Regions from separate parts of the Homo sapiens genome. Here all the other regions are linked to region 1. Evidence: promoter capture Hi-C in 16 types of primary human blood cells and fetal thymus (Javierre and others, 2016). All regions are on one chromosome and are shown on one strand. Each heading gives the region's core, a stretch centred on a gene start or on the middle of the fragment in contact. The rest is flanking DNA. Distances are from core to core; before and after follow the strand shown. Region 1 holds the start of CDC42BPG (CDC42 binding protein kinase gamma). Region 2 overlaps CAPN1 (calpain 1). Region 3 has its middle 2.2 kb from the start of SYVN1.

The links. The method cuts DNA at HindIII sites, captures the fragments that hold promoters and counts their contacts. A CHiCAGO score of 5 or more calls a contact.
Region 2: a contact is called between a fragment that was not itself captured here and the fragment with the promoter of CDC42BPG in region 1, in 2 of 17 cell types (M1 macrophages and M0 macrophages). The highest score is 5.6, in M1 macrophages.
Region 3: a fragment that was not itself captured here is called in contact with the fragment with the promoter of CDC42BPG in region 1 in 2 of 17 cell types (M2 macrophages and M0 macrophages); the score reaches 6.8 in M2 macrophages.

What each region holds. Positions count from the first base shown.
Region 1 is chr11:64,842,512-64,846,199 of GRCh38, reverse strand. It overlaps CDC42BPG (CDC42 binding protein kinase gamma), which reads left to right and starts at 1,547. Exons shown (of 37, transcript NM_017525.3): 1 at 1,547-1,790. The coding sequence starts at 1,631. RefSeq lists silencers at 1,368-1,717, 1,728-1,777, 1,808-1,857 and enhancers at 2,072-2,884, 2,909-3,203. The HindIII fragment of the contact is 2,728 bases long and covers 819-3,546 here.
Region 2 is chr11:65,186,681-65,190,368 of GRCh38, reverse strand. CAPN1 (calpain 1) reads right to left here. Exons shown (of 22, transcript NM_005186.4): 7 at 3,071-3,154; 8 at 2,329-2,414; 9 at 1,881-1,955; 10 at 1,623-1,783. Among named protein-coding and RNA genes, the nearest start is that of CAPN1, 6.6 kb to the right of the region's middle. RefSeq lists enhancers at 1,585-2,131, 3,503-3,688. The HindIII fragment of the contact is 3,882 bases long and covers 38-3,688 here.
Region 3 is chr11:65,134,915-65,138,602 of GRCh38, reverse strand. No RefSeq gene overlaps it. Among named protein-coding and RNA genes, the nearest start is that of SYVN1, 2.2 kb to the right of the region's middle. RefSeq lists a silencer at 3,405-3,588 and enhancers at 3,574-3,688, 3,442-3,688. The HindIII fragment of the contact is 539 bases long and covers 1,970-2,508 here.

The DNA.
Region 1 (3,688 bases), core at 298-2,797:
GGTGTGGTGGCACATGCCTATAATCCCAGCTACTTGGGAGGCTGAGGCAGGAGACTCTCTTGAACCTGGGAGGCAGAGGTTGCAGTGAGCCGAGATCGTGCCACTGCACTCTGGCCTGGGTGACAGCGTGAGACACCATCTCAAAAAACAAAACATCAGCCTGGCCTAGTGGTGTGAGCCTGTAGTCTCAGCTATTCGGGAGGCTGAGGTGGGAGGATCACTTGAACCCAGGAGGTTGAGGCTGTGGTGAGCTACGATTGCACCACTGCACTCCAGCCTAGGGGACAGAGTGAGACCCTGTCTCAAAAAAGAGAAAGAAGTGTTGTCTAGGCCGGGTGTAGTTGCCCATGTCTGTAATCCCAGAACTCCGGGAGGCCAAGGTGGGAGGATTACCTGAGCCCAGGAGTTCGAGACCAGCCTGGTCAACATAACAATAACCCTTGACTCCAAAAAGTAAAATAAAAAATCAGCTGGGTGTGGTGGCATCTGCCTGTAATCCCAGCTACTCAAGAGGCTGAGGCAGGAGCCTAAGAGGTCAAGGCTGCAGTGAGTTATGATTGCATCACTGCACTCCAGCATGGGTGACAGAGAGACCCTGTCTCAAAAAAAAAAAAAAAAAAGTGTTGTCTGAAGCCACCAATATGTCCCACCCTTTGATCTCTCCTCATGGTGCCTGGTCCATCCCAGCTGGACAGAAATCAGAAATACCACTGGACAGAGCCAGCCCCTCCCCTCCCCAACCTCCTCCAGCCTATCTCAGACCTCTCCTTGCCCTTCACGTTCCAGGTCAGACCTCAGGCCCTGCTCCTACTGAAGCTTAAAACGCCTGTGGTGTTGGTACCAGCCCAGCTCCACCTCCACCCCAGGGTCTAACTTAAGAGCCACCTTGTCCTCAGCCCCTCAATTCGCCTTCCTCCTTCCCAAGCCTCAGTGTGTCCATCTGCCAAATGGGCGTGACCATCCCTACCCCAACTTCCTGTCTCCCACATCAACTCTAATGATACAATCAAAGTAAGATTCAGAAACTTTTTTTTGGGCGGGGGCGGGGGGGCGATGGGTGCCAAGCGCGGGCAAACCATGGAGAGAGCGAACTACAATTCCCATCCGGCTCCGGGGCCGCGGGCGTCCCTAGCCCCTCTCTCTTAGCCAAGGGCAAGGCGGCTGCGACCCAGGGGGCGAGAGAAGTTGCAGTGCTCCGCGCCTCCTGGGTCAGGGCCCAGGGAGGGCCCAGGTAAGTCTGGGTCTGGGGCCGCGCGGGGATCTGGGGAGTCTTTCCGACCCCGCAGAACCCCACCGCGCCCCGCGCAGAAGTCAGTTGTTCTCCCCGGCCCGCCCCCGCACTTCCTGGCCGGGAGTTGGGCCCGCCCCCGCGCGCCTCCGCCCCCACCTTCACCTCTAGCCGCGGCTCCCATTGGCCGGCGCGCACCTGCCCGTCCGTCGGGGGGCGGGGCGCGGCGCCCAGGTGAGGGCGCGCTGGCGGCGGCGGAGGAAGGTGACAGCGGGGAGGGCGGGAGAGGGGCGGGGGAGGACGCGCGGACAGAGCCTCAGACGGTTGGGCGGACGGACGGCCCGACAGGCGGGCATGCGGGCGGCCAGACTGTAGCCGAGCAGCGAGGCTCCGGCCGCAGCCATGGAGCGGCGGCTGCGCGCGCTGGAGCAGCTGGCGCGGGGCGAGGCCGGCGGCTGCCCGGGGCTCGACGGCCTCCTAGATCTGCTGCTGGCGCTGCACCACGAGCTCAGCAGCGGCCCCCTACGGCGGGAGCGCAGCGTGGCGCAGTTCCTGAGCTGGGGTGAGTGGCGGGGCGGCACGGAGCGGGGGCGGGCCTAGGGATATCGCGCCGAGACCCCCGCACCCGCAGACTTTCCCGCAGGGACCCGCACCCCCACGGGCTTCCCTCGCAGACTCCCTGCAGTGGCCCTGACGCGTACCACCGGACCCCCGCGGCCCGCACACTCGCCTGCACACCTCACCCTCACTCCAATTCTCACACACGCTCTCTCCCTCTCACAGACCCCGACACATGCACACACATACCAACTTGTGCTCAGGTATCGACCGCAGACGCATGTACCCAGTGCACCGCCTAGAGTCCCTTACAGATTTCCTTGCTTACAGGCCACACCTGACGCAGGACACACACAGACCCTCATGCATGTCACCCACTGATACACGGGCTCTGTTTCTCCTTCCTCTCGGATGCATTGAGACACACAACTCATGGAGAGACCCAGGGAGCGCTGCAGACCACCCCGACCGCATTGGCACTGCAAAACACACAGATCTGTAGGTATCGCACACTTGCAGACCTTCCCCCCACCAACACACACACCCCCAGCTCCCTGGGTACAAGACCACTGCAGCCTGGACTCAGGAACCGATCTCCAACCCTTGGCCTGTGCAGGCTGCTGGCCAAGCTCCTTGGGGGCTGTGGCGCCGGGGCCGGGGAGGGGGGCCTAGCTGGAGATGGGTCTGTACCTTTCCTGGTAGACTCATCTGAGTCATTGGGAGTGGCTGGCCCGGGGTGACCCTGAACCCACTGTGGGCACTGGCGCCAGCTGGAGGGTTCCCTGGTCACACCCTGCCGGGCCATGGGGAAAAGGCACGGGGGCCTGGCCAGGGCGGGGTGAGGCAGGTGTTTGCCCAGTGGGCAACTAGCGTTCCTGGCACTCCTGAGCTCTGGGAAGGCACAAGGCCTGGGGTAGAGGGGGAGGCTGCCACCTAGATGTGCCAGGGAGTTGTCCCCTAGCCCCAACCCTTCCATCCAGGGCGAGGCAGTCAGAGGCCCCTGCCTCTGTGCCTGTCTCCCTGGTATGCCTCCGTGCTATGCCTGTCTGCCTGTGTTGTTGTCACCCCCCCCATGACACCCACACACGTGTGTGTGTTTGCACACACATGTGTGCTCCTCCCTGACTGCCTCCAGCACCTCTGCCTGGGACCCCGGCATGGGGGCCCTCTGTTGACAATCTCCCAAGGTAACTCAAAGGGCTGTGACTCATTCCTCTCCTGCTTGTCTCTACTTGTCCCTGCTCCTGCCCGGAGCCCCCATGCCCTGTGGGAGGCCAGAGGATTAGGCAGCCTGTCCAGGGGCCTGGATCCTCCTGCCTGTGGGCCTGGGCTTCGGCCCTCTTCTGGCGGGTGGGTCCCTATGGTGCTGGCTTCAACTCCCACGGGGAGGCCCGGGGCTGCTCCTCCCCAGCTCCACACACAGACCTGGGAAAGAGACAATGAATTTCTGTAATGAGGTTTCCACCCCGCCCCCGCTGCGGGCTTCTGCCTGATAAACCTGTGGAACAGCTCTCTGTCCCACCCACAGACCCGCCCAGCTGGCAGGGAGTTTACCTCCTGGCAGGGGGAAACTGAGGCAGGGCGCCAGACCACAGCTGCCCCCCATCCTGACTGATCACTCCTGCCTCCCTAAGACCCAATTCCTTCCCAAAACCTGGGGCTAATCCAGGCCTGGAAAGTGCCTGGGAGTGGCTGGAGTTGCCCTTCCTGGAGGTATCTGGGATGTGAGGAAAGAGGACGTTCTTGACCAGACAAAAGCTTCGTCCAGACAGGGAGGCAGGGCTGGGAGTGAGAGAGCCGGTCAGGCCTGGAGGCATCCTGAGCACTCACGCCTTCAGGGGCTAGTGCTAGCACCAGGGAAAGGCATCTTTGTCCTGTTTGTGAGTCTCAGCACCTTGGCAG
Region 2 (3,688 bases), core at 729-3,228, 340 kb before region 1:
AGGACAGAGCAGCGGCGGATCTGGCAAGGCCAAAGCTTAAGTGACCTTTGAGAGGGTGGTTTTAGCAGCATGGTAGGGATGAAGCTGGACTGGGAAGGGTTAAGCAATGAAGCAGAAGTGAGAAAGGAAATAGGGAGTATGGTAATTCCTGATAAATTGTGCTTTGAAGGAGGGCGGAGAAATGAACAGGGAAGTGGGGTCGAGAGGGTTGCTTTGTGTTAAGACAGAGGACTCTCCGTAATGACACTGGAGAGAGAGGTGACAGATGAAGGAGCAAATGCTTTCAGAGGTGAGGGAGAATGGGATCTGGAGCAGACGTGGGGGTCCCCATGAACAGGGACTGTTCTGCCACTGTCGCAGGTGGGGAGGCGATGAGGACACAGGCACAGGTGCAGAAGGCTGGGGGATTTGGAGGTGGGAACACAAGGTGTCCTGCAGGATGAAGTCTATCTTTTCAGTGAAGTGCAAGGCCAGGCCCGAAGGTGAGAGTAACAGTGGGGAGATATCGAGGTGAGAGTGGAAATGTTACTAACCAGTAGTGGAATTGCTGGGGATTATGGAAAATGCTCATTTGAGATTTGTGGCTAAGAATTTACAGGGAAAATATGGCATCGGTTATGTGATTTCTCTCCTGCCACACTCAATGGTTCCCAAGCCAGTGGAGATGGGTTTTGTGCCAGATGATGGGAGACAGGGGCCAGGGAACTGAAAGTGTTTGTAGGAACAAGATTAAAATGATAGCTCTAACCTAGGTAAGGAGAGAAGGCAAGATGGGAGAGGCAGGATGGTACGCAAGTGATGGGTTCAACGGACTGGCTTGGTCGAAGGGTTGAAGACTAAGGGAGTGGAAAGAGTCGAAGGTGGAGGTCAGAGAGCGGGTGTTTGCAAGACAAGGCAGCTCTGGTGCCCTCATGGTGGGGGCTGAGCTAAGGTAGAGAAAAAGCGTGCTGCAGTGAGAGTGACAAGGAACTGAGAGGCCAGGCTGTGGCCCACATCAGCCACATGGATCTAGAAGCCCAGGGAAAGGTGGCAAGAGAAGGCAAGAAGGGACCTGGCACAGTGGCGCACGCCTGTAATCCCAGCACTTTGGGAGGCCAAGGTGGTCGGATCACCTGAGGTCAGGAGATCGAGACCAGCCTGGCCAACATGGAGAAACCCTGCCTCTACTAAAAATACAAAAATTAGCTGGGTATGGTAGGTGCCTGTAATCCCAGCTACTCGGGAGGCTAAGGCAGGAGAATTGCTTGAATCCGGGAGATGGAGGTTGTAGTCAGCCAAGGCCACGCTACTGCACTCCAGCCTGGGCAACAGAGTGAGACTCTGTCTCAGAAAAAAAAAAGCGAAGGCAGGAGGGAAGGGCCCAGGAAAGGAGTGACAGGCAGGTGGCTGGATGGCCACAAGATCTTTGCCCCTCATGAGCACCCTGGGCTCAGGCCCCAAGACGGTGAGTCAAGCATGCCTCTTTAAAATTTACTAGGACATTTAATATTTTACTCCTCAAAGCAAATTCAAGAGATCAGCCTATATCTTGCAAGTGAGGAAACGGAGGCTCAGTAAGATGACGTGCCTTCTGGAGCCCCTAAGCCAGGAAGCAGCAAGACCCAGAGCCCGCCCCTGTGCACCTGGGTAGTTTCGGCAGCCCCCCGCGGTGCTCCCCCGCCGCCAGGTGCCTTCGTAGAGTGTGGTGTTCCATTTGCGGATGGTCCGGCTCTTGAGGGCGTCGGGTGTGAGGTTGCAGATCTCCAGGCGGGTGAACTCCCGCATGAAGTCTCGGAATGACATCCTGAGGTGGGAGGTACACAGGTGAGGCACAGCCCGTCAGGGCACAGAGCTGATGTGTAGGGGTGGAGAGGTGGGGTAGAAGGGGAGGGGGCGCTCACCAGAACTCCCCGTCCTCCATCTTGACCCGGAGCTGGTCCCGTTCATATGGGTCCACGTTGTTCCACTCTGAGGAGCTGTGAGGAGCAGGGCTCTGCCAGGGCTGGTGGGCACTGACCTGCCTGGCCTCTGTCCCTGGGGCCTGTCTACCCTGGCCTGTCTTCCCCCGGCCCAGCCCAGGTGGCCTCCTCAAGGTCAAGCGCCAAGGTTCCGCTTCTAGGGGGTGGTCTCATCAGGGCCAGTCTGATGCCCTGCACACACCCGACGGCTGGGCACAGGGGCCCGCACGGCCTGAGCTTTGTCAGAGCAGTCCCCCAGACCCAGTCGCGCGAAGATGGGCCCCTCTGCTCAATCCTGAGTCCAGCCTGGCCTGGTAGAGTCCCGAGCAGAAATGTCGGGGCACCTAACAGTTTCCCCAAGGCACTCCAGACAGTGCCCACTGCCCCTCACCTGTCGCTCCAGGCTCCCGTCCACTCCACCTCGCCCCAGGGGTTCCGCATCCGGATCAGGCTCACCACCTGGCCTCGGTAGTTCACCTATTTGCCAGAGCTCCTGTCAGTGCTAGCTTCCAGCAGGCACTTTTTTTTTTTTTCTTTTTTGAGACAGAGTCTTGCTCTGTCACCCAGGCTGGAGTGCAGTGGTGCGATCTCAGCTCACTGCAACCTCCGCCTCCTGGGTTCAAGCAATTCAATTCTCTTGCCTCAGCCTCCCAAATAGCTGGAATTACAGGCACCTGCCACCACACCCAGGTAGTTTTTGTATTTTTAGTAGAGACAGAGTTTCACCATGTTGGCCAGGCTGGTCTCGAACTCCTGACCTCAGGTGATCTGCCCACCTCAGCCTCCCAAAGTGTTGGGATTACAGGTGTGAGCCAGTGCACCTGGCCCATGCACGCACTTTAACACTCCGCCTCCCATACCCTCATCCTCTCCAAGCCCTGCTCAGCACCCAGATGAAGCCTGTCCTCTTGGAATTCACAGCCCAGGCAGGCAGCTGCACACATGAACTACAGTCAGTCAGGGCAGGACATGATAGGCATCTCAGATGGGTGTCCCCAGAAGAGAGATAAGGTGCTGCAGGAGGGGAAAGGAGGAGCCAGCACCTTCCACAGCCCTGGTCAGGTGCCAGAGAGGCAAGGACAGGCCAGGGGGCAGGAACCGCCCTTCAGGGAAGGCCCCACCCAGGGCAGTACCTGCTTGGCCCCGGTCACAGAGTAGGCATGGCCCTTCACCAACTTCTTGAAAGTGATGGCCTCCATGTCTAGAACGCTGGAGATCTGCAGAAAGAGGCACACACTGTGGTCAGTGGCTAGGTCCCCCCGCCCTATCAGATGAGCCCCCAGCACTCAGGGTCTTGGACGTTCCCACTTGCACATACAACAGTTGCTAGGAGAAGCAAGCAGGGACCCCGATCCCACCTATAGACACCCCCACATATAGATGCTGCTCTTTTGGAGAGGGGTAGCCTGGGTACCCCACCAATGCTGCCACTGGGACAGGGGAGCCCAGGCACTCCGCTGACACTGCTACTGGCCAGGGCTGACCAGAACCTGTGCGAACATGCATGTGCACACACACAGCCGTGCACAGCCCACCAGAGCCACACAGCCCTCAGTGGGCCTCACGGAGAAGGACGTGAGGACAGAAGAGTCAGTTAGAAATGGGAATGGGAGCTGGGGTTAGAGCTGCGGATGGCAGTGATACTGGGGTCAAGTCTGGCGTTGAGGACTGGGGAGCGGAGTTGAGTGTGGGAACAGAGGAGCAGGGAAGGGTGGGAATGGAGTGAGTGTGGGATTGAGGCTAGGGATGGG
Region 3 (3,688 bases), core at 990-3,489, 290 kb before region 1:
TTTTTTTGAGATGGAGTTTCATTCTTTCACCCAGGCTGGAGTGCAGTGGCGCAATCTCAGCTCGCTGCAACCTCTGTCTTCTGGTTTCAAGTGATTCTCCTGCCTCAGCCTCCTGAGTAGCTGGGATTACAGGCGCATGCCACCACGCCCGGCTAGTTTTGTGTTTTGTTTTGTTTTGTTTTGTTTTGTTTTGTTTTTTGAGATGGAGTCTTGCTCTGTCACTGAGGCTGGAGTATAGTGGTGCGGTCTCGGCTCACTGCCAGCTCTGCCTCCTGGATTCACGCCATTCTCCTGCCTCAGCCTCCCAAGTAGCTGGGACTACAGGCGCCTGCCACCATGCCCGGCTAATTTTTTTGGTATTTTTAGTAGAGACGGGGTTTCACCGTGTTAGCAAGGATGGTCTCGATCTCTTGACCTCATGATCCGCCCGCCTCAGCCTCCCAAAGTGCTGGGATTATAGGCATGAGCCACCACGCCCGGCCACGCCTGGCTAGTTTTGTATTTTTAGTAGAGAAGGGGTTTCACCGTGTTGGCCAGGCTGGTCTCAAACTCCTGACCTCAAGTGATCTGCCCGCCTCAGCCTCCCAAAGTGCTGGGATTACAGGCGTGAGCCACCGTGACTGGCCAAACATTTGATTTTTTGAAGCTATGTAAATAGTATTTTGAAATTTTCAATTTCTGATTGCTTATTGTTAGTACTTAGAAGTACAACTGCTTTTTGTCGAGGCATGGTGGCTCATGCCTGTAATCCCAATACTTTGGGAGGCCAAGTCAGGAGGATCGCTTGAGCCCAGGAGTTCAAAAGCAGCCTGGGCCTGATAGCAAGACCTTGTAGCTACAAAAAAAATTCTTTTTAATTAGCCTGCCATGATGGCATGCACTCCACCCCAGCCTGAGGAAGTAGGCAATGCTTTTTGTGATATTTGAGGAGAAAGACGTTCCTGGGAGAAGGAAAGACATATGCAAAAGGTGATGGGCCTGCCTGGGGCATGGTAGGGATGGTACACCTGAGACCCCACAACTGGGCATTATGCCTGAAGGGCAGAGTGTGGGAGGGAAGGCAAGACGTGAGCTCAGGTGTCAGGAGATCTCTCTGGCCGTTCTATGGAAAACGGATGAGGAGGAAAGCACAGGAAAGGGGACTGTTGCATTTTCCCAGGCATGAGATGATGATGGTCTGGACTAGGACACTGGCAGTGAAAATGGCAAGGAAAGAATGAATTCTAGAGACACTCAGGAGGTAGAACCCACAGGATGTCCTCTCTTGCCTATTGCACCGCAAGAGCCTCCTAACTGGTTTCCCTGCTCCCACACTTGCCTTCCTCCCCACTACAGATTATTCCAACACAGGAGCTGGAGTGACTTTTTTTTTTTTTTTTTTAGTTTTTTTTGAGACTGAGTCTCGCTCTGTTGCCCAGGCTGGAGTGCAGTGGCACGATCTCAGCTCACTGCAAGCTCCGCCTCCCAGGTTCACGCCATTCTCCTGCATCAGCCTCCGGAGTAGCTGGGACTACAGACGCCCGCCACCAAGCTCGGCCAATTTTTGTGTTTTTTTATCAGAGACGGGGTTTCACCGTGTTAGCCACGATGGTCTCGATCTCCTCACCTCGTGATCCAACCGCCTTGGCATCCCAAAGTGCTGGGATTACAGGGTCAGCCACCACACCCAGCCTGGAGTGACTTTATTACACCTAAGTCAGAGCATGTCACACCTCTGCTCAGCACCCTCCAATGACTTCTCACGTCACTCAGAGGAAAAGCCAAGGTCCCTGTGATGGCCAATGCGATCTTGCCCTGGCCTCTTTCCTACGCACCCTTCACTAGTTCCACTATAGCCACACTCATCTCCTTCAACAAAGCAGCACTGCTCCACCTTTATTGAGCTGTAACTCTTTACCCAGACATCCACTTGGCTCATAACCTCACTTCCTTTAAGTCTTTGCTCAAATGTCACCTTCTCAAGGAAGCTTACCCGATTATCCTCGCTGATACTGCAACCAGCTTCAAGTACCCCACCACATCCTGATCCCCTTTATTCTGTTCTACTTTTTTCCTATAGCACTGATCATCTTCCAGCGTATTAGATTTTTCACTTATGTCTGTGGTTTGCTGTCACATCTACTAGGATAAGCTCCACAAAGGTAGAGATCTTTATTTTGTTCACTGACATCCTAAGTCCCTAGAACAGGAGACACTTGATCCATATTTGTAGACTAACTGAATAAATGACTTAATTACCAGTTTGGATGTGGGGGCAGATAGTGAGCATGATGCCCGTTTCCGGAGCTGGGGTGCAGACAGTGTCTAGGGACACTGAACTGTTTTAAAAGCAGGATAGATCCCGGCTGGAGACCACACAAGGAAATCATCAGCACCTGGGTCAGGGGCTGGACTGGAGCAGAGGAAATCATGCAGGAAAAGTAAAGAGAAGGACATCAGGTAAAGAGAAGAGGACACATGCATAGCCAGAGAGAAAAGAGGAGCAGAGGCATGTGGATCACAGAAGCTTAGGGAGGAGACTTTCAAGAAGGGGAGAGAGGTTGAGTCAAGCAAGGGCTGAAAGCCAACCATTGGATGCAGTCACTAGAAAGTTACAGATAGGCAAGGTGTTGTGGCTCACGCCTGTAATCCCAACACCTTGTGGGGCTGAGGTGGGAGGATCGCTTGAGCCCGGGAGGTCGAGGCTGCAATGAGCCCTGATGGCGCCAATGCACTCCAGCCTGGGCGACAGAGCAAGACCCTGTCGCAAAAATTAATAAATAAATAAATAAAAAGAAAAGGGGGAAAAAAAGTTATACGTGGCCTTACGGGGAAGCCAACTCTGACTGGTTATAAGCTGAAACTGTCAAGTCAACAGGTGGCAGGGAAGATGGCTGAGACCAACAGCACAGAGATTTAGAGGCAGACAGACCTGGCGCCAATCCTAGGACAGGTTTTGGTAAGCCTTTGAATTTCAATTGCCCCACGTTTCGGGGGAGGGGGTAGCACCCCCTAGCTCATAAACCTTAGTGATTGATGATTAAATGAGATGACGGAGGAAAACGCAAGGCACAAAGTGGATGCATTAGCTCCATTTTGTTAATCAGCAGGCTTAGTTGGCTGCGACCCAGACACGAACTAAAATACAGTGCAGCCCAGGACCAGTGGGGGTCTTGCTTATGGCTCAGAGCTGAACAACACATGGGCAGCAAAATCAGACACTGAGATGCGGGCAGGCCTGCGACGCTGAAGTCAATTCCTTTGAACAAACAGAACACTTCCGTCCCAAGATTAGCAGGAATTAATCTCCCAGTCTCGGGTACACCTGGTTGTCCCTCCCTGTCCTGGCGCGGCAAACGTTCCCGGAGGCCAGCCAGGGATCACTCGCCCAAGGACTGAGCTTTCCCTACTCTCAGCCAACTGGAGCGGGACCAGGGCCTAGGCAACGCAGCTGTCCGCCCCTAACAACCACTCACCTGCTTTCCCCTTTCTATAGGCCAGCAAAGGTACATTCTTTTTCTTATTGGGCCGCGTAACTTATCGCAACCAATCAGTGGCAGCCACGGGACCCAACTCACTCCCACACAACTTGTGGGGGTGATCATGGAGAAGACAAATTTTTGTTTTCCGCATCCAGTTCTCTCAGAGAGCACCGTATTTGTCAAACTGTTGTGACTCTCCCTAAATGTTTAAGAAAACATTTCATTCC